Linked DNA regions of Homo sapiens: region 1 is linked to region 2. The links are contacts of gene promoters, found by promoter capture Hi-C in blood cells and fetal thymus (Javierre and others, 2016). All regions are on one chromosome and are shown on one strand. The core of a region is centred on a gene start or on the middle of the fragment in contact, and the rest is flanking DNA. Distances in the headings are between cores, read along the strand shown. Region 1 overlaps SLC35F3 (solute carrier family 35 member F3). Region 2 holds the start of MAP3K21 (mitogen-activated protein kinase kinase kinase 21).

The links. The method cuts DNA at HindIII sites, captures the fragments that hold promoters and counts their contacts. A CHiCAGO score of 5 or more calls a contact.
Region 1: a contact is called between a fragment that was not itself captured here and the fragment with the promoter of MAP3K21 in region 2, in 7 of 17 cell types (M2 macrophages, erythroblasts, total CD4 T cells and 4 more). The highest score is 8.0, in M2 macrophages.

Annotation. Positions count from the first base shown.
Region 1 is chr1:234,070,632-234,074,524 of GRCh38, forward strand. The region is part of intron 2 of SLC35F3 (solute carrier family 35 member F3); the gene reads left to right. Among named protein-coding and RNA genes, the nearest start is that of SLC35F3, 170 kb to the left of the region's middle. RefSeq lists an enhancer at 2,184-3,383. The HindIII fragment of the contact is 2,588 bases long and covers 741-3,328 here.
Region 2 is chr1:233,325,887-233,329,334 of GRCh38, forward strand. MAP3K21 (mitogen-activated protein kinase kinase kinase 21) reads left to right here and starts at 1,838. Exons shown (of 10, transcript NM_032435.3): 1 at 1,838-2,947. The coding sequence starts at 2,143. It also overlaps a transcript of PCNX2 not described here. RefSeq lists silencers at 1,352-1,651, 1,842-2,141, 1,941-2,092, 2,282-2,481. The HindIII fragment of the contact is 7,885 bases long and covers 1-3,448 here.

The DNA of each region.
Region 1 (3,893 bases), core at 785-3,284, 740 kb after region 2:
ATAGTTTCCATGTGTATTATTGTTTTTTAATCTCATCAGGTTCATAGAATTGTTCTAACAATTCATATTAGTTAACATCTTTTTCTGTTTTTCCATATTTTAAGAATTTGTCTATTTCCTGCAGTTTTTTTTTGTAAGGTTATAATTGACATATTTTTATGCCACCCCATAACATATCAGTTCATTTTAGTAATTTTGTATGATGGCCTCCTTAAAATAAATAATTAATGCTCCTCTCAACCTTCTAGATTTGTGCAGAGTTACAATTGGAGACTGTTAGAACTAGGAAGAATCTGAGAGCTTACCCTCAACTCCCATTTTGGGAGATGAGGAAATAGATGCAGAGCAATCCCGTCTCACCTGAAGCCCTGCCTCCAGGCAGCCGACAGAGCCTCACGACTCTATCAGAGAAAGTCTGTCTTGTTAGGTATACAGTGAAGAGACTGTATACCTTTCAAAGGAGTTGTCCCTCCTCTGGCCCTATGTGTGGAGAGGACCCAAGAGCAGACCCGGCAGAGTCTAGGGACCTGGCAAGTCAAGAATCTATCAATAATATCGCTACAACACATGAGTACCTGCTGGGGGTCAGGTGCTAGTCAAATGCTTTCTTTATTTCCTTGACAATTACTTACTGAGAAACTATGGGCCAGGCACTGTTCAAAGTCCTTGGGACTCTCCAGAGAGTAAAATGGTAAAACAGCTCCATCATCATGGTGCTTCTTTTAGAACCATTTTCAGAAAGCTTGTTCCCATCCTGGTTTCATTAGAGCAAAGACGACGTTCTTGTCACTCCTGCTGGGTCCTCCACCCCTGGCAGAGAGCCTGTAAGTTAATGGGTGGGTGGACAGTCCTTACGTGACCAAATTCATGTGTTTCCAAATCTTTGCCATTTCTCTCACCTCTGATAGGAGTAGAGCATTAATGGGTTAAACAGAAATTATCAGTTTAGTAGGCTCTCACCATGAAAGTTACAACAAATAACATTTTTAGGAATATTTAATGAACATTCCATGTTATTCAGATCTATGAACATGCAATTTGTCATTGAAGAAGTGAGGCCTTGGGAAGAAAGCAGCAGAATGCTTCAAAAGGTGTCTAATTTCCACCTACAAACCTATTAATAACAGCTCCTCCCAAACTCCGTACCTCCTATTGGCATGCCTCGTTAAGATGTAATTAATGGCCAAGGACCACCCTTTCTACTCCCCAAATTGTTGGCTAGTTGTTGAAGTTATGGGAGTTAAGAAACTCCACTATCCCTTGTCAATAAAGTTTCATTATATCCCACAGGGCACAATTGGCACCATTTACTGGCCTGGACAGAAAAAGGAATCAGGGGACTCATGAGTGTGGTTGCTTGAATTGGGAATGAGAGAACTTATGACAATGTAGCTGAGTGGAAATAACTGTTTTTAGAGTCAGATTTATGTAAGTGACTACTGAAATTAATTCAACAACAGTAGATATTGTAGGCAGCATGACTGCTTTATGTGCTGTTGCTAACTCCAAGGATTTCTAGAAGAATAGGACAATCCTAACAGTGCTGGTTTATTTTGGATATTTTTCTGTCTTGTCTAAGTAGCTGTGCCCTGGGTTTACATTTATTTATCTGTGAAGAAGGTTGCACTTAATAAAAGGCACTTGCTATGGTCATATGTTTCTTTCTGCCTTTATTCAGATGCAAACATAATTTTCTGTTAGTGACAATTGCCTGTGCCAGTCATTGGGCCCTTAATTCACTCAACAGATACTTCCTGAGCACTCATCAGACACTGATGGAGATAATGCAGTGAACAAAACAAAACCCTGGCCCTCCTTGGTAGAAAGAGAGAGACATGAAGCAAATATACAATTAAATATGTAACATGTTAGGTAGCGTTTAATACGATGGAGAAAAATTAAGCCAGGAGGGCCTGGGACAGACAGGAGAACTTGCCATTTTCTATGCGGTGACCGGGGAAGTATCTCTGATGTGAAGATAATTGAACAGAGAAAGGGGTGGGGGGCTGTGGATCTCGGGAAGAACGGTGTTCCAGGCAGAAAAGAAAGCCAATGCAACCCCTTGCAATGAGGCTATGCTTGAAGTGTTTGGGGAACAGGAGGAAGCCAAAATGGCTGCGGCCTATGAGTCAGCAAAGAGTGGCAGGACCCATGGGCAAGGGGGCAAGGGTCCCCATCACACCAGGCCTCAGAGGTCTTGTAAGGACCTTGGCTTGGCATGGAGAGATGGGAAGACCCTGGAAGGCTTTGATTAGAGGAGTGGCATGAACTAACTTAGGTTTGAAAAGAATCACTTTGGTTGTTATATGGCAAAGCAGATGGTGGGAGGACAGGCGTGGGCACTGGGAGACCTGGCGAGGGTGTTTGTGATAACCCAGTGGAGAGATGATGGAGGTGGCTGCAGAGGCAGTACAAAGTGATCCCATTGACTCATCTGTTCCGTGTGGATGTGTCTGTACCTTTCCCACAAGAACACAAATGTCAGATGGGCAGATATGCTAGCTTCTATTTCCTTTTGATTTTTATTTTACAGATAGGGTCTTGCTGTGTCACCCAGGCTGGAATGCAGTGACGTGATCATAGCACACTGCAGCCTTGAACTCCTGGGCTCAAGCAATCCTCCCACCTCAGCTTCCCATGTATGTGGAACTATAGCCATGAGCCACCAAGTCTGGCTAATTTAAAAAAAAATTTTGTAGAGATGGGATCGCACTGTGTTACACAGACTGGTCCTGAAATCCTGGGCTCAAGAGATCCTCCTGCCTTGCCTTCCAAAGTGCTAGGATTACAGGCATGAACCACCATGCCCAGTCCCCTATCTTCTATTTCTTGAGTCCTTCCATAAGCACCTTGCATAGCTGGATAATCGAAACACAAAAGTCATCATGGAAAGAAGCAGCAGCCATTGCTGTTGGAGACTGTGAACAAACCATTCAGCCTATCCATCAGGATACCCGTCACCTACCTCCCGGTTCCTTCAAAGGTACTGGGAAATCATTCTGAAATTCTGTGAATCAGATCAATTTAAATCACTTCCTCCGACATGATAAATATATGATACATACCACTCATTTCATTGTCCATATAAAATAAAAATCCAGTATAAACTGTGAAACCACTGGACTTTTTTCTCTTCTTTCCCTCATTTTTCCCATTTGCTTGTGGGTGTCCCAGGAAAAAGTCCCAAGTTTGATGTCGTACTTGCTTCAGTTTCTTTTTTTATTATTAAATGTGGTAAAATATTTGTAACATAAAATTTACCATCTGGGCCATTTTTAAGTGTGCATTCGATCGTGTTAAGTGTCTTTATATTGTGTATCATTGTCCAAGCTTTAGTTTCTTTTTCTGCTAGGTCTGGCAGGCCTGGAAGCCATATTGAGTGTGGCAAAATTCTCCATCTATTCTTCTACTGTTTTTCTATTAATGTGCTTGGTGCTACATTTTAAGAAACGTCCCTCTTGTCTCACGGTCTGAAAACTACCTTCTTTTCACAGGTGTCGGGTGTCATCCTACTCTTCATAAGTTAAACACTCCCTTCAGCTTTCCCTTTAAAATGTACGTCAAGGTCACGGGTCACATGGCTGGTCAGTAGCAGAAGCTTCCATCCTGATTGCTGGTCCTGTTCTCTTTTCATTACCTGCTATTATCTCTTCTGGACCCACTTCTTTCTCTTTTGACTTCATCATCAGTTAACAATGATTGAACACTGGGCACTTCTAAAAGCAATGCCAGAGCAAGCAGCTGCCCTAAAGGAGTATGTCAAGTATAAGAGGCAACTAGCAAATAGACATAGATATTGAAAACACAAATGACAAAATCTGTAACCACAGCCATGACAGCTCAACCCATGCAGATATGTATATATGAGTTCTCAGTGCCCAAGTAGGTGGAAA
Region 2 (3,448 bases), core at 588-3,087:
AAACAGCTTCCCATGCTACAGAGAAGTCTTTCGTGAAAGGTAAAGTCAATCCATGTGACAAACTTCATAGTTGCCTTAAGAATTTGCCATAGCCACTCCAACTTTTAGCAACCACTGCCTTGATCAGTCAGCAGCTATCAACATAGAGGCAAGACCTCTGCCAGCTAAAAGATTATGACTTGCTGAAGGTTCAGATGATCATTAGCACATTTTACCTATAAAGTACTTAAAATTAAGGTATAAACATTCTTTAGACACAATGCTATTGCACACTTTATACGCTACAGTATACTGGAAACATAACTTGTATATATATGCACTGGGAAATCAAAAAATTCATGTCACTTGCTTTATTGCAGTGATCTGGAACCATGCTTGCAGTATCTCCAAAGTATGCCCATACTTTAAATAGTTAGATTACTTATAATACCTAATATAATGTAAATGCTCTGTAAATAGTTGTTATGCTGTATTTTATTTGTATTATTTGTATTGTTATTTTTTGGGTTTTTAAAAAACATTTTTGACCAGCTGTTGGTTGATTCTGTGGATGCAGAAGACCCACTGTAAAACTATTAACTCATTTAGTCTTCCTAAAAACCCTATAAAGTAGGTACTATTTATTATATTCCCATTTTATAGATGAGAAAACTGAGTCATAGAGAAATAAAGAAACTTGCTCAAGGTCACACAGCCAATAAATAGTTTGATCTGAGAGACAAAGAAAACTGAAAAGACAATAAATTTATCTTTATGTAACTCAGAATGTTACTGTATGTCCTATCCTCATAATATCTAAAATTGTCCCTTCTGTTATTGGAAGTACAGGATCCACACGTTAGGAAATTCTGGCCTACTACAGGATAATCTAATATTTTAGAATTTTAATAACTAAGCTCTTCTATCTTTTTAGCCTCATCACCTGCCACAGTAACCTACCAACGTCTGGCACCCAGCCATTGCCAATGCTTCCTAAACCCAAACCTGTGGGTTTCCAGGGAGACTGGGGCATTTTCCATCTGAGTAGACAGTAAAAATAAGCAAAGGATTTACCATCATGGAGCTTCTGGGACTATACCGACCACGGGTCACTCTGCGCTGCGATCTGTAACCTAGTCAGTTCTGAGATGCACGGTGGCTCAAACGCACTTAGCATGGTGACTTGCCACTCGCACTGGCCCAGGTCTGGCACCGCGCTACAATTTCTTCTGTAGCCCGTTCTGAGATTCTGTCACTCTCCCTGAACTGCAACTCTCTCTCTCCCCGCCACACCCTAAAGCCCCACATCTTCTCAACCCTCTCCCACCGCTTCTTGGAGAAGCGTCCCCTCCCTCAGTCTTACCTTTGGCTTAATTTAAACTCTCCCGAAAATTTATAGCGGATGACGGCCGATCCCGCCTCCCAGACCATGTGGGCGCGGCTCACCATTGCTCCGGAGCACCTGCGGCGGGGGCGGGGTGGGACCAGCCAGGCGGGCCCAGGGGGCGGGCCCGGCCCAAGGTGGTGGGGGACGGGCCCGGGCGCCAGGGGCGGGACGAGGCTCTGGGGACTGGCACAGAAAAGGGAAGTGAACCTGGCGAGGGCGGGGCGGGATGGTGCAGTTGGTGGGGAAGGGTGGGGCGAACCTAGGAAGGCGGTCCCATAGGGCGGGCGCAGACTGGGCGCCCGGGACGGGTCAAGGAGGGCGGAATGAACCTGGAGAGGGCGGGGCGGCTGGGGGAGGGGCGGGAAGGCCCTGGGGACTGGCCTAGGGGCGGGCCCGGGGGGGTGGGGGGGCGGTGCGGAATGGAGCCGGAGGGGGCGGGGCGGCCCTGGCGCGGCTAGGGTGGGGTGGGGCGTCCCAGGCTCTGGCTAAGGAGCGCGCGGCGGGCGGGCCGGCCGCAGGGCCTGGGCACGACCATGGTGGGACGTCGCCCGCGGCTTCGGGGACCGCTGCGGCAGCAGAGGCGGCTGGCCAGGAACGCGGGCCGAGGCTGGACCCTTTGGGCAGCTAGCCCGTGATCTCTGCCGTCACCGATCGCGATTCCTACCCCCTCGCCTTCCCCCGGCGCCGACGGCCACACCGCCGGACGATGCGCGCCCGCGGCCGCCCGGGAGGCTGAGCCCAGCTTCCCGCTCCGCCTTCCCCGCGCAGCTGCCCCCATGGCTTTGCGGGGCGCCGCGGGAGCGACCGACACCCCGGTGTCCTCGGCCGGGGGAGCCCCCGGCGGCTCAGCGTCCTCGTCGTCCACCTCCTCGGGCGGCTCGGCCTCGGCGGGCGCGGGGCTGTGGGCCGCGCTCTATGACTACGAGGCTCGCGGCGAGGACGAGCTGAGCCTGCGGCGCGGCCAGCTGGTGGAGGTGCTGTCGCAGGACGCCGCCGTGTCGGGCGACGAGGGCTGGTGGGCAGGCCAGGTGCAGCGGCGCCTCGGCATCTTCCCCGCCAACTACGTGGCTCCCTGCCGCCCGGCCGCCAGCCCCGCGCCGCCGCCCTCGCGGCCCAGCTCCCCGGTACACGTCGCCTTCGAGCGGCTGGAGCTGAAGGAGCTCATCGGCGCTGGGGGCTTCGGGCAGGTGTACCGCGCCACCTGGCAGGGCCAGGAGGTGGCCGTGAAGGCGGCGCGCCAGGACCCGGAGCAGGACGCGGCGGCGGCTGCCGAGAGCGTGCGGCGCGAGGCTCGGCTCTTCGCCATGCTGCGGCACCCCAACATCATCGAGCTGCGCGGCGTGTGCCTGCAGCAGCCGCACCTCTGCCTGGTGCTGGAGTTCGCCCGCGGCGGAGCGCTCAACCGAGCGCTGGCCGCTGCCAACGCCGCCCCGGACCCGCGCGCGCCCGGCCCCCGCCGCGCGCGCCGCATCCCTCCGCACGTGCTGGTCAACTGGGCCGTGCAGATAGCGCGGGGCATGCTCTACCTGCATGAGGAGGCCTTCGTGCCCATCCTGCACCGGGACCTCAAGTCCAGCAACAGTAAGTGGGGCCAGAGGGAGGTGGGGGAAGACTACCTCCGTGCCAGCCCAGGCGGGCTCCACAGGACATAGTACCAGATGGAAAGAGGTGGGAGTCAGCCTTAGGGCGCCAGCAGCAACTCATGCCCAGGCCTTCAGGGCTCGGAAGTCCAGCTAGTCCTTGGTTACTTGCTTTGGGGCTGGTGACACGCTTAACCTTGACTTGCCTTTGGGTGCTTTTTAAAAAAGTTCAGACCAGACTTGCTTGTAGAGGAAACATTTGTAAAATACCTGGATCTCCTAGAAACCTCAGGGGGCAGTCTGGCCTTTCAATACCAGAGGTGATTCATCTGGGTAGGACTTTGCAAACCGAGGCCTTCTGCAGATTATATGGAACCCATGACCGTCTTCACCCGGTGGCCTTCATCAAAGTCCCCGAATGCACTCGGGGACGTCAACTTTACAAGTGCTGTATTGAGGTTGCTGTTTGCCTATTCAAAATATGACTTCATGTCTCTTACCT